Linked DNA regions of Homo sapiens: region 2 is linked to region 1. The links are contacts of gene promoters, found by promoter capture Hi-C in blood cells and fetal thymus (Javierre and others, 2016). All regions are on one chromosome and are shown on one strand. The core of a region is centred on a gene start or on the middle of the fragment in contact, and the rest is flanking DNA. Distances in the headings are between cores, read along the strand shown.

The links. Contacts are between HindIII fragments. The CHiCAGO score rates a contact against its expected background, and 5 or more counts as called.
Region 2: a contact is called between a fragment that was not itself captured here and the fragment with the promoter of SNX6 in region 1, in 4 of 17 cell types (total B cells, fetal thymus, neutrophils and 1 more). The highest score is 7.1, in total B cells.

The regions. Positions count from the first base shown.
Region 1 is chr14:34,625,605-34,632,657 of GRCh38, reverse strand. SNX6 (sorting nexin 6) reads left to right here and starts at 2,510. Exons shown (of 14, transcript NM_152233.4): 1 at 2,510-2,547; 2 at 2,704-2,751. The coding sequence starts at 2,542. RefSeq lists an enhancer at 2,187-2,236 and a silencer at 2,407-2,756. The HindIII fragment of the contact is 3,459 bases long and covers 2,064-5,522 here.
Region 2 is chr14:35,428,245-35,435,297 of GRCh38, reverse strand. It overlaps the pseudogene DNAJC8P1. Among named protein-coding and RNA genes, the nearest start is that of NFKBIA, 27 kb to the right of the region's middle. The HindIII fragment of the contact is 312 bases long and covers 3,621-3,932 here.

The DNA.
Region 1 (7,053 bases), core at 1,261-3,760:
ACCTTTGTCCACAAGGACGCACTTGGCCTTCCTATCAGTTGTATGTAAATCCCTCTCATTTATTGTGGCTCCACTCCTCTCTCTCCACCTAGGAAGAGCTTTGCAGACATTACCTTTAATCTAAAAACAAACCAATAGGAAATAGTGGCACTTTTAGTAGGTAACAAATTACTGGAACATTCCTCCCGACACTTCATCACACTACAATGACACCACATGATGCCTCATGACTCCCAGTGAAAAAGACTACTTTAGTAGTCACCACAATGCGCTGGGAAACAAGAAACAAAAGACAAAAAATAAAGTCCCTTCCCCGCCCCCCATTTCGTAGAGTAACCTTTGTTGGAGCAGTAACTTAACCTCTCTATACTTCAGTTCTCCTTACATACAAAATGAAAGCTACAAGAAGTTCTTATGAAAATATCAGTTAAGTGGTTTTTTTAAATTTTTAATTTTTATTTATTATTTTCTTTTTGAGACGCAGTCTCTGTCACCCAGGCTGGAGTGTGGTGGCATGATCTTGGCTCACTGCAACCTCTGCCTCCCGAGTTCAAGCAATTCTCCTGCCTTGGCCTCCCGAGTAGCTGGGATTACAGGTGCGCACCACCTCACCCAGCTAATTTTTGTATTTTTAGTAGAGATGAGGTTTCACCATGTTGGCCAGGCTCGTCTTGAACTCCTGACCTCAGATGATCTGCCCCCCTTGGCCTCCCAAAGTGCTGGGATTACAGGTGTGAGCCACTGCGTCCGGCCAAAATATCAGTTAAGTTTAATATTGTTTTGAGAGCTTCACTTCAATAAAATAGGATGGAGGGCCTGGCAGAGTAGAGAGGGATTCAAATGTAGAAGGCTTGAAATCGTAGGCTGAGGAATTGAATCGTTATGTAATGGGGGCTTGTAAAGATTACTGAACAGGGTAGTAGCATAATCATCAATATCTGTGTTTTAGGAGGAAAACTGGCAGCAGTGTGTAAAATAGGATAAAGTGATGGAAAATAGTGGAGTCAGGAGAGTATTGCAAAGGTGTAGACGAGAGTTGATGGTAATTGCTGTGAGAACTGGAAAAATTGGACTAATTAAAGAGGTATGGGCTGGGCGCAGTGGCTCACACCTGTAATCCCAGCACTTTGGGAGGTCGAGGCGGGCGGATCATGAGGTCAGGAGATCAAGACCTTCCTGGCTAACATGGTGAAATCCTGTCCTACTAAAAATACAAAAAAATTAGCCGGGTGTGGTGGCACACACCTGTAGTCCCAGCTACTCGGGAGGCTGAGGCAGGAGAATGGCGTGAACCCTGGAGGTGGAGCTTACAGTGAGCCGAGATCGCACCACTGCACTCCAGCCTGGGCGACAGAGCGAGACTCTGTCTCAAAAAAAAAAAAAAAAGAGGTATGAAGGACAATCAATTGTAGAAGCCATAGGATTTGGTTGGATATGAGGAGTAAGGGAGATAAGGATTTATTTCTTTCTTTTTTTGAGACAGAGTCTTGCTCTGTTGCCCAGGCTGGAGTGCAGTGGTGCAATCTCGGCTCACTGCAACCTCTGCCTTCCAGGTTCAAGCGATTCTTTTGCTTCAGCCTCCCAAGTAGCTGAGATTACAGGCACGCGCCACCACGCCCGGCTAATTTTTGTATTTTTAGTAGAGACGGGGTTTCACCATGTTAGCCAGGATGGTCTCAAACTCCTGACCTCAGGTGATCCGCCCGCCTTGGCCTCCCAAAGTGCTGGAATTAGAGACGTGAGCCACAGCGCCCGGCCCCTAGAGTACGGATTTCAATGGGTTAAGGGTTTCTGGTCTGAACATCTGAAGATGCCTTTCCTTAACTGAATGCAAGCTCAGGAACGTGTAGATTCTAGGATTAAGTATGATTTTCTCCCGTTATTTGAAATGCCTGTGGATCCCGTGTGATGCTAACCACCTGGACAGTTAGAGTAGGTGTGGGGAAATTTCTTCTAACAAAGGAAAGGAATATTTTTGTAATGAAAACAGCTCATTTTTATAGTTCGCAACCATTAGTGCCCCAAACTCTGAGGTAGTTATTACCTCGCCAGCGGTAAAAGCTTGATTATAGTCCCTGATTACCGACTGTGTGAAGGTCCTTGTTTCCAGCAACTTCCATAGGCAAAATGATATTAATTGTGATTAATTATCGTGTGGCATAATACAAAGACCAGATGATGTATTATGGCTTCCGGAGGGCGCCTGCATCGTTTTTCGCTGGAGCCCTCGGGGCAGGGGAACTGGAGAGCTCCCTGGGTGGCCTTTGGCCCTTCCCTGGTCAGAGCCCGCCAGCTGCGAGGTGCCCCCAGCCATGAGGTCTGGGTCTTCAGGCTCTCCCGACTTCGGTGCCTTGACCTTGGGCAGAAGGCCCTGTTAACCTTCCTCGCTCACGGACTCGAGCGACCAGCGCCGGGGACGGGGCGGGCCGTCCTTAGGCCCCGCCCCTTCGCCTCCGCCCCGCCCCGCCCCGCTCCTGGCCGCCGGCTCCCTCCGGCAGCAGGGAGATGCGCGCCTGCGCCGGCCCTCGCCTCGGAGCAGCCATGATGGTGGGTGTTCTCCGCGGCGCCGAGTCCCGGGAGCGCGGTGGGGGCAGCGGGCGCGGGGCGGGCGCGGGGACCGCGCCAGCCTGTCACTAATGTCTCCCTTTGTGTCTCCCCCATCTCATCCTTTTCCCCGGCGCGCCGTGCCCGCCGACCCCACAGGAAGGCCTGGACGACGGCCCGGACTTCCTCTCAGAAGAGGACCGCGGAGTAAGTTCTGCCTTCCTTTCGCTCGCGGGACCCTGGACCCTCCTTCCCCATCCTGGGTCCCCGGGTGTGGTACGGGGATGGGTCCCCAGCCGCGCGGCACTCCCTCCCCGTAGTCCTCCTTTCGGTTTCCTCGCTGCACCGCGCCCCACCCTCCCGCAGCCCTTCCTCCCTAGGGGCCGCTCGGCTCCGATTCCCGGGGACCCGCGGCCGCTTTCTTGTCCCCCGCCGCTGTTCGGGCCTTCTGGTGGACCTCCACTCCCACGCGGGGCGGGGTGCAGGTGGCGAAGTGGAAATGGAGGCGGGAGATGGAACGCCCCCACCCTCCCTCGACACTTTGGGGCCATGAAAACCCATTCTCGGACCTTCCCAGCGGCACCCTCAATTTTCACCCGGTGTGGACATCTCGAACTTGCTCCCGCCCACCCTTCTGTCTCTCTCAAATAGTACAGGTGTAGTCTACATTACCATTTTGCAAGGATTTTTATAGTAGCCGAATCAACTCCTGTCCAGTGCCCTACTAGATTATGCAAAGTGCAGGTAGCCCATGGTATCTTTACTTTTTCTAATATCCAACAAATCCTGTCTTTGGCAGGATTTCCTTGGTGTTTTATTCCCCCTTAGCTTCTTTGAGGTATATTGACAAATACTGTTGATAATTGTATATACTTAAGGTATACATTATATTTTAATACACGAATACATTGTGAAATGAGTACCAAAATCAACCTGACATATCCATCACCTCACCTAGTTACCATTTTTTTTTGTGTGAGAACATTTGAGATCTAAGCAAATTTCAAGTATGTACCCTTTGACCAACATCGACGCTCCACCCACTCACCCCCCACATACACACTCCGCCAGGCCTTTGATAACCTCCATTCTGCCCTTGGTGTTCTGAGGTTAGTTGCATTCTACTTCAGAAAGAGCCTTCCGGGCTCTGATTCCTCCCTCCCACCCCACTCTCCACCCCCTTTTTCCTTGGCTGAAGGGTGGTAATCTTTATAGTCCCTTGTACAAGTGAGCACTTGGAAAATGTTGATATATGATAATTACCATTCAGCAAGGTTCCATGGTTCCTTCACATTTCACAGCCTGCACTTCAGTTTTCCCTTTTGCTTTTTCTTATCCGTTTTAATGTGAGAGAGACATCTGTTAGTGCATATTTGGTAGGTGATAAAATATTGTGGGATGTTATTGCTGTTTGTAATAACAGATGAGGTAGTTAGTATGAACTGATGACTTTTATAAAACTTTTATTTATTTATTTGGTTTTATGAGACAGTATCTCCCTTTGTTGCCCAGGCTGGAGTGCAGTGGCATGGTTATAGCTCACTGCAGCCTTGACCTCCTGGGCTTAAGTGATCCTCCCACCTCAGCCTCCCAAGTAGCTGGGACTACTGGCACGGGCCACCATGCCTAGCTGGGTTTTTGTTTGTTGGCTTTTTGAGACGGAGTCTTGCTCTGTCACCCAGACTGGAGTGCAGTAGCGCTATCTTGGCTCACTGCAAGCTCCGCCTCCCGGGTTCACGCCATTCTCCTGCCTCAGCCTCCCGAGTAGCTGGGACTACAGGCGCCCGCCACCACGCCCGGCTAATTTTTTGTATTTTTAGTAGAGACGGGGTTTCATCATGTTAGCCAGGATGGTCTCGATTTCCAGACCTCGTGATCTACCCACCCCGGCCTCCCAAAGTGCTGGGATTATAGGCGTGAGCCACCACGCCCGGCCTGTTTGTTTTTATAGAGACAGGGTCTCACCATGTTGCCCAGGCCAGTGTCAAACTCCTGGGCCTAAGTGATCCTCCTGCGATTATAGGCGTGAGTCACTGTGCCCAGCCGAGCTTTTAAATAGTAAGAAAGATGGAGAAGGTGCTGCATACTTTTATAAATTAATTTCTCAGTGTAAACAAAGGCATTATTTAGAATTTCAGGTTAGAGCAAAAGCATCATATAGAATTACTAGTTGTTGGTAAGATTTTTAGTTTCGGCCAGGCACAATGGCTCACACCTTTAATCCCAGCATTTTGGGAGGCCGAGGCAAGAGGATTGTTTAAGGCAGGAATTCAAGATCAGCCTGGGCAACATAGCAAGACCTCATCTGTACCTAAAAATTTTAAGACCAGGCACGGTGGCTCACGCCTGTAATCCCAGCACTTTGGGAGGCCGAAGTGAGTGGATCACCTGAGGTCAGGAGTTCGAGACCAGCCTGACCAACATGGTGAAACCCTGTCTCTACTAAAAATACAAAAATTAGCTGGGCATGGTGGCGCATGCCTGTAATTCCAGTTACTTCAGAGGCTGAGGCAGGAGAATCACTGGATTCATTCACTGGAACCTGGGAGGTGGAGGTTGCAGTGAGCTGAGATTGCACCATTGCACTCCAGCCTGGGCAACAAGAGCAAAACTCCATCTCAAAAAAAGAAAAAAAAGAAAAAACAATTTTTTTTTTTTTTGAAACGGAGTCTCGCTCTTTCGCCCAGGCCGAAGGCCCGACTGCAGTGGTGCTATCTTGGCTCACTGCAAGCTCCGCCTCCCGGATTCACGCCATTGTCCTGCCTCAGCCTCCTGAGTAGCTGGGACTACAGGCGCCCGCCACCGCACCTGGCTAATTTTTTTGTATTTTTAGTAGAGACGGGGTTTCACCGTGTTAGCCAGGATGGTCTCGATCTCCTGACCTCGTGATCCGCCCGCCTCTGCCTCCCAAAGTGCTGGGATTACAGGCGTGAGCCACCGCGCCTGGCCAACAATTTTTTTTTAAACTTAGGCAAGCTTGGTGGTATATACCTGTAGTCCTAGCTATTTGAGAGGCTGAGAGCTTGAGAACAATGAGCTATGGCTTGAGAGAGCCAGGGTGACAGAGTGAGGTCCTGTCTCTAAAAAAATTTTTAAAATTGTATTTCGGGTTTTAAAATAGCGGAAACTAGCAGAGTTACTTAATGAAGTATGAGGAGTTGATTATAGCACAATTAAACTAATTATTCTAAATATAAAGCATATGACCTTTAGATAACTTTATGTCCTATTTTTGGTGTCTACTAGCACAAGCAAACAGGATTTGCTTTCTTGGAGGATCTTAATAATGTTCAGTAAAAATACTAATTTTTGAGTATGTTGATGTTGTGAAAAGTATTTTTTGGTGAATATTTGTGTTCATGGCTTTATGCCTTCAGAAAGATTTGCTCATGAAACTGGAAGCCCTTAAGTAATTTGTCCAGAAACTTTCTCTTTTTTTTTTTTTGAAATGGAGTCTCGCTCTGTTGCCCAGGCTGGAGTGCAGTGGCGTGATCTCAGCTCGCTGCAAGCTCTGCCTCCTGGGTTCATGCTATGCCATTCTCCTGCCTTAGCCTCCTGAGTAGCTGGGACTACAGGAGTGCGCGACCGTGCCCGGCTAATTTTTTGCATTTTTTTTTTTTTTTAGTAGAGGCGGGGTTTCACCTTGTTAGCCAGGATGGTCTAGATCTCCTGACGTTGTGATCTGCCTGCCTCGGCCTCCCAAAGTGCTGGAATTACAGGCGTGAGCCACCGTGCCTGGCCCCAGAGACTTTTTCATGTATTACAAAATTAAAGGGAGAGGAAGACAAAAGAGCACTCCTGACTGTGATGTTCTTATAGAATCCTGTAGATGAAAATTTTAATATGGAAATGGAAAAAAACCTGAATTAGAATGCTTTTAGAACATCAGGATGGATATATACACTTACCCAGTTCTTCCTTATTTTTGTCCCGTGGAACTGGGTGAATCATAATAATTATAAAATTATAGGTGGGCACAGCATAATCATTGTTTCATTATATTTATATTTCATTATATTTCATCATCCCTCTAAAGCCTTTAGTATCCCCCTTTTTCTAATGAGAAATCCGAACTTCAGAGAAACTAAGTTAGTAGTCTGAGGTCACACAGCAACAAATGGGAGAGCTGGACTTTAAAACACATTTCTGATATCAGAGCCACTGCACAGGTTTCTCAAAGTGGCCTTGAAATACTTGCATTAGAATTACCTGGTGCATTTGAAAATCAAAATGAAAGTTTCTGGGTGTCACCTCCTCACTAAATCAGAATCTCTTAGGGTAGGGAATACACAGTATTGAAAACTGTTGGTCACACTTTGATCTCTTCAGCCCCACCTCTACATATGGGCAGATAACTGCATTTTTTTTTTAAATTTTTTTTGAGACAGGGTCTCGCTCTGTTGCCCACGCTGGGGTGCAGTGGCAATCTTGGCTCACTGCAACCTCCACCTCCCGGGTTAAGGTGATTCTCCTGTCTCAGCCTCCTGAGTAGCTGGGATTATAGGTGCC
Region 2 (7,053 bases), core at 2,527-5,026, 800 kb before region 1:
TTCCTTCATATATTTCCTAGTCAATTCCCACAATATTTTCCCTTGAAGCCCAAACCCATCTTCTTTTTTTAAGAAGGGTATACAAACTCCAGGTTCTGGCCAGGTGCAGTGGCTCACACCTGTAATCCCAGCACTTTGGGAGGCTGAGGCGGGTGGATTTCAAAAATTAGTGGGGCATGGTGGCACATGCCTGTAGTCCCATCTACTCAGGAGATGGAGACAGGAGAATCACTTGAACCTGGCAGTCAGAGATTATGCCACTGCGCTCCAGCCTGAGCGACAGAGTGAAACACTATCTCAAAAAAAAAAATTCAAGTTCTGAGCACGTCTTTGAGTTTTCACATCATCTCTGTGAAGCTTCCATGCATTTAAAAGTATTAATATCAATAAAAATCATACATTTTTTTCCTGTTAATCTGTCTTTAGTCAGTTAAATTTGCAGGCCTCATTCACTGAAACTAGGTGGGAAGACAAAATATTTTTCATCCTGAAGAGCACTAAATAGAATGGTAACCTTAGGTGCTTACATAAGAAATTGAAAACCCAATCAAAATACTACACTCAGAAAATTCCATTTAGGGCAGTGCATATTATTTTATATAATCTTAAAAGTGTCTGTTATGGCAACTAAGCACAGTGACATGACCAAATGTACATGTTTGTGATGACAGACACTAGACTGTATACTTACATGACATTTTGAAAACCTAGAAGTGAGGCATTTATAAAAGAGTGAAGGCCGGGTGCGGTGGCTCACGCCTGTAATTTCAGCACTTTGGGAGGCCGAGGCGAGCGGATCACTTGAAGTTGGGAGTTTGAGACCAGCCTGGCCAACATGATAAAACCCCATCTCTACTAAAAATTAAAAAAAAAAAAAAAAAATTAGCCAGGTATGCCGGTGGGCACCTGTAATTCCAGCTACTCGGGAGGCTGAGGCAGGAGAATCACTTGAACCCGGGAGGCAGAGGTTGCAGTGAGTCAAGATCGCACCACTGCACTCCAGCGACAGAGTGAGACTTCGTATCAAAAAAATAAAAATGAAAAAAAAAAAAATGAAAAGCAGGGCCAAGCTTAGGGCCCAGATCTCCTTCCCACCACTTCCTTCCAAAATGTTGGCCTGTGATACTCACAGCTACAACTTCTCTTTAATACCTAGATATAAATCTCATTCAATAAAAACAATTAGCAGAAGAGAGAACATTCAACAGTTGCAATTACCTAAATGTCCCTCCGGTAACCATTTGAATGACTAAATCCTCTACATTGATTGTTTCAGTGAATGATAATTAAAACCAAATAACCTCCAGGCTCATTTGATTCTACAGTGACAATACTAAACCTCTAGACATTATATTGCAAAGCCCTGAATTGAGCCAGGCAAAGCAAAACCAAAGTACAAGGAGAATTGAGTGGTGGGTGGAAGGGTGCTGGTGCATACTAGAGAAGAAAGAAGGCAACAGACACCCTTCACAAGCACATTTAACTGTAGATAGGGGAGCCCCGCGACACCACTTCCTAGTCAGGGAGACTCCTTCCAGGCTTTGTATGGGGAATGGTGTAGTTAGATTAATAACGGCTTCCTACTATTTCCTTCATGTTCCATAAACCAACATGCATCTCACTTCTGCCCTCTGAAACATTGCTTCCCTTATTGTTGAATCCTTTACCCAATTCCATAAGGCCTACTGGGAATATTGTTTTGGGCTTAGACATACGATTAAAGACTTTGTGTGGTTTTTTTTAATATAAGGTAAGAATTTTGCCAGACAAATATGGACTAAGATTAGATAGGCCTTGTTTTCCATATTTATAATACAGAGAGGGAGCATCATCCTGATTAAGTTAAAGCAGAGATTGTGCCCTCATCATTGTGCCCTCAGAGGTTAGTGAAGCACACAGTAATTTCACAAAAATACTCTTTGAACTGAACTTAATGCAAAGTATGTTGAACTAAAATCCATGCCTAACAATATTAATGTACAAATTGTACATTAATAAATCATTCCAAAGCACCATGTTTGTTGCAATTTTTAAATACTCAAAATAGCAGGTGGGCAGACTTGATAAATCATTGCTCTATAGTATACGTTAATACCAGGATCTCAGCTTTCCTCTGCAGGACAAGCACTTCTAGGTAGATGTCAAAGTCAAAAGTTTGGGTAGTTCAGCACCTTCTATAATCAATCAGTGAATCAACACTTATAAAGCACTTACTATGTGCTCGGCATTGTTCCAGCCACAAGATTAGAATGGGGAATCTTCTGGGATCCGCTGAAAATATTGGAAGGCTCTTTCCCAGTAAACTACAAATTACCCCCCAAGCCCTATTTTCTTGGAATTTGTACTAAGAATCCCATATCTGCAAGCAATGTACTTTCAAATAGTGCAGTTTTCATAGCCTGCGTGTTGAATGGGACCCACATGTAATGGCATCTATGATGCACTAAAATAGAGAAGGTCACAAGGGGCCAGGTTCAGTAGCTCACGCCTGTAATTCCAGCACTTTGGGAGGCCAAGGCGAGTGGGTCACTTGAGGCCAGCAGTTCAAGACCAGCCTGGGTAACATAGTGAAACCCAGTTTCTACAAAAAGTGAGGTTAAGTCTGCATTGAGCCATGATTGAGCCACTGCACTCCAGTCTGGGTGACAAAGCCTGTCTCAATCAGTCAATCAAAAAGTCACAAAATCCCCAACACTATAAATTAAAAAACTGTAGAAAACACAGTGCTAACTTCTCCCCTATTAATCTTAAAATAAATTTGTTTTTCATTATTGTAAACCTGTTGGATGTTTGATTGTTTTGATTTAAGAGAAAGGGTCTCATTATGTTGCCCAGGCCGAATGCAGTGGTTATTCAAGGGCTCAAACTCCTGGCCTTAAGCAATCCTCCTGCCTCAGCACCCCCCCCACCCCCCACCAAGTAGCTGGGACAACAGGCCACATGGCAAGAGGCTTGAAATTTTTTATTGTTGTTGTTACCATGCACATATTACCCATCACCACTCTCACACCGCGCCCCCAACAACAAATCTGTGCCTAAAATGACACTATTTGAATTTATCTTTTAGTAGACCATCCAGATTCTTTAAAGTTGTCAGGAGCCCTGTCCCTTTAGCAAGCTGGGTCAGAAAAAAGCACTACTATACTTGGATTAATTTTTAAATGTTTAAACACCTAATTGGGAAAAATGAAAATTTAAAGTAATTAGAAGACAATTTAGAAGATTAGAAGATTCTCTATGACATCTGGACACAAACAAGATGAAAAGCATAAAACAAACACACGTATTAAATTAAACTATATTAAAATGTAAAGCTTCGGCCAGGCGTGGTGGCTCACGCCAGTAATCCCAGCACTTTGGGAGGCCGAGGCGCGTAGATCATGAGGTCAAGACGTCTAGACCATCCTGGCCAACATGGTGAAACCCTGCCTCTACTAAAAATACAAAAATTAGCCAGACATGGTGGCATGCACCTGTAGTCCCAGCTACTTGGGAGGCTGAGTCAGGAGAATCGCTTGAACCCTGGAGGTGGAGGTAGCAGTGAGCCAAGATCAAGCCCCTGCACTCCAGCCTGGTGACAGAGCGAGACTCCATCTCAAAAAAAAAAAAAATGTAAAGCTTCTCCAAATTAACGCAGGAACAGAAAACCAAATATGGCATGTTCTCACTTATAAGTGGGAGTTAAACATTAGGAACTCATGGAAATGAAGATGGAAACAATAGATATGGGGACTACTAGAGCGGCGAGGGGGGAATGGAGCAAGAATTAAAAAACTACCTACTGGGTACTATACTCACTATCCGGGGTGACAAGATCATTTGTATTCCACATCTCAACATCAAGCAATGTACGCATGTAACAAACCTGCACGTGTACTCCCTGAATCTAAAATAAAAGCTGAAATTATTAAAAAACAACAAAAAGCAAAGCTTCTCTATGACAATAGTTACCACTTTTTTGGGGGGGTAGTTATAAAAATTTATTATACATAAAGAATATTACTACTAACAAATGCAGACAGGCTAGGACACCATGGTACTGGGAGGAGGACGGCTAGCTCTTTGGAAAGTGAAAGGTTTGGGTGGCGTGGGCCTCATGCCATGCTGATTGGTCAGTAGACAGGGGGCACATGCCAAACACCACAGGGCATCAGGGCATCAGGTGCCTGTTCTGTGTGCCCACAGGTGTTCCCTGTCTTATCTGGGCCTTCTAAGGGAGCACACCCAGAAGCGAGCAACTGAAGCCAAGGGGCTTCCAAAGTGCCCCTTCCAGGCCTGTCTCTGACGTCACAGCAACACCATTTTAAGTAATATGTTTAATTGGATGATTTCCACAAACTAGGACGAAGTTTCTAACCATCACAATTCAGTGAAGTACAAAACACTGAGTTACAGGCTGTGGGAAGAGAAGGCAGCACCAATGGTGCCACCTTCCAATCCTGGTTGTTCTAGGGGCAGGGAGGAGGAAGGTCTTTTTTTAAACCAGTCCCCTCATTTCATTGTACAAAAGAATTACTCTGATCGATATTAAATTGTATTCAAAACGAAACAGACTAAAAAGCAAATACTACTCTATGTTGAGGTGGAAGTGGGAGGAAAGAATGAGTCCTTCGAAGCAGGAAGGGAGATAGCAGGGGGAAGGTTCTGTGCCTGTGACCCCGGGTGGTCACTCATGCTGCTCCATTTTTACTTTCGGTGGTCTCAGGAAGGTCCGATTTTTCTTCTCTTTCTTCCCCTTTGTATTGACTTGGAAGTTTCGCCAGCTGTCCACACGACCATCTCGACCTTCCTCAAAGTTTTTCTGCCACTCTCTTTCTCGTTTGGCTTTTTCTTGAGCTTCAATCTCTTCTTCCCTTTGCCGTTTCCTTTCATGCATCTCTTTGGCTTCTCTCTCTTTCCTTTTAATTTCCAGCTGAGCAAAGAGTTTCATTTTCTGTTTATATACAGCTTGTTTGAACAGCTCAGGATCATCCTCCTCTACAATCGTAGGTTTTCCTTCCTTCTTTGATTGTTTTTTTTTTTTCTCTCTTTCACAGTGTGTTCCACGTATTCTTTTCCTGCCTAAATTACATCCAGGACCCTCTTCTTTTGCTCCTGATCAGTAGCAACTTGTAAGCTTTGTCCACAGTTTCAAAAGCCTTTTGTGCTCTGTCAGCATCATCTTCATTTTTGTCAGGATGCACCAAGATGGATAACTGCCGAAACCTCTTTTTTATTTCTTCATCTGTAACTTCAGGATCTATCTGAAGAAACTCAAATGGGTTCAAATTGAAGTAAGAGGAACCAGGACGGGTCAGTCTTTCAATGTGGTTTTTGGATGTTAGAACCAAGTCTCCCTTCTCTATTTGTTTCCCCTGAAGACAAGGCCCGGGAGAACAAGCACCAGGCAGTCCCAGGAAAACATTCTTGGTGTCACTGTCAGGGTTGGAATGAATATGAGGTATGCTGTATGCCATCTTTATTCCTCACTGTAGGAGGTCATAAATGCTTCCTCTGTGCCGCCTCCGCCGCCCAAAGTCCCGCTCTCTCCTGAAGCCGCCATTTCCCCACAACTTTTTTAAAAAGTTAAAATCTATGGGCAGAAACTATATTTAAGAGTGTAAATTGGCCGGGCGCAGTGGCTCACGCCTGTAATCCCAGCACTTTGGGAGGCCGAGGCGGGCGGATCACAAGGTCAGGAGATCGAGACCAACCTGGCTAACACAGTGAAATCCCGTCTCTACTAAAATACAAAAAAATTAGCCGGGCGTAGTGGCGGGCGCCTGTAGTCCCAGCTACTTGGAAGGCTGAGGCAGGAGAATGGCGTGAACCCGGGAGGCGGAGGCTGCACTGAGCTGAGATTGTACCACGGCACCCCAGCTTGGGCAACAGAGTGAGACTTCATCTCAAAAAAAATAAAATAAAGTAAAACAAAATGTCTTCAAGGGCTGCCTGTATGGACAGATGAGATGTTACTTCAGCTTAATAAATTAATATTCAATGTATTAAAGTAACAAAAACATTACTTAAGCTTTTTTAAAAATAGAGTGTAAATTAGCACAATCACTTTAAAGACAATTTGTCTAAATCTCATAAATTTGTAAATACACATATCCTATAACCCAGCAATTCTATAAAATTATAGCTAGAACAGTAATTCTCAAACTTTAGTGTGCGTCAGAATCACTGGAGAACTTATTAAAGTAGTTTGGTAGGCCCCACCCCACCCCACCCCCGTTTCTGATTCAGTAAGCATGGGTTAAAGCCCAAAAATTTACATTTCTAACAAATCCCAGGTCATACTGATGCTGCTGGTTCATGCATCACACTTTGAGTATCACTGCCCTGAAGAAACCATCATGGATGTGCCTAAGGGGACACATACAGAAAATATTCACCATAGTATTGTCTATCACAAGTAAGGAAATGGATGAATAAATGTAGAATATAGCAATGAAGTTACGTGAAGGAACAACATGAATCCATATGAGTAAATCTCAAATCATAATGGTGAATGGAAAAGTAATTTGCAAAAGGATACATTTAAGATACCATTTATGTAAGACTTAATAGTATTAATATCCATTATTTACAGATACATTCATATGTACCAAAAGTATGAAAATATAGGAAGAATACATATTGGCAAAGGAGTCAGGGAATTGAGATTGCAAAGAGCTTCAAAAGGGGCTTCAATTGTATCTATAACATTGTGTTTTGTTAAAACTGACCTAAAGCTCACCTCTTTCCAATGCCCTGCCCTACCCTCCTACCCTGGAAAAGGTAGTCAGTAGAAAAGTAGACATCCTGTCTAGAGAAAAGCTGCAGAGGATGGTAGAATGGGAACATCCCTCTCTGCACAAAAATAATGCAGGAATAAAGATGATCTATTTCACTATTTTTTTTCCTGATCTTCCAAGAAAACTTGAACATTATTATCTGCCTATATTGTCAAAAGAAAAGAAAAAGGATAAGGATAGTGTTTTGCTTTTGTTTTGTTTTGCTTTGTTTGGGACAGGGTCTTGCTCTGTTGCCCAGGCTGGAGTGAAGTGGCATGACCATGGCTCACTGCAG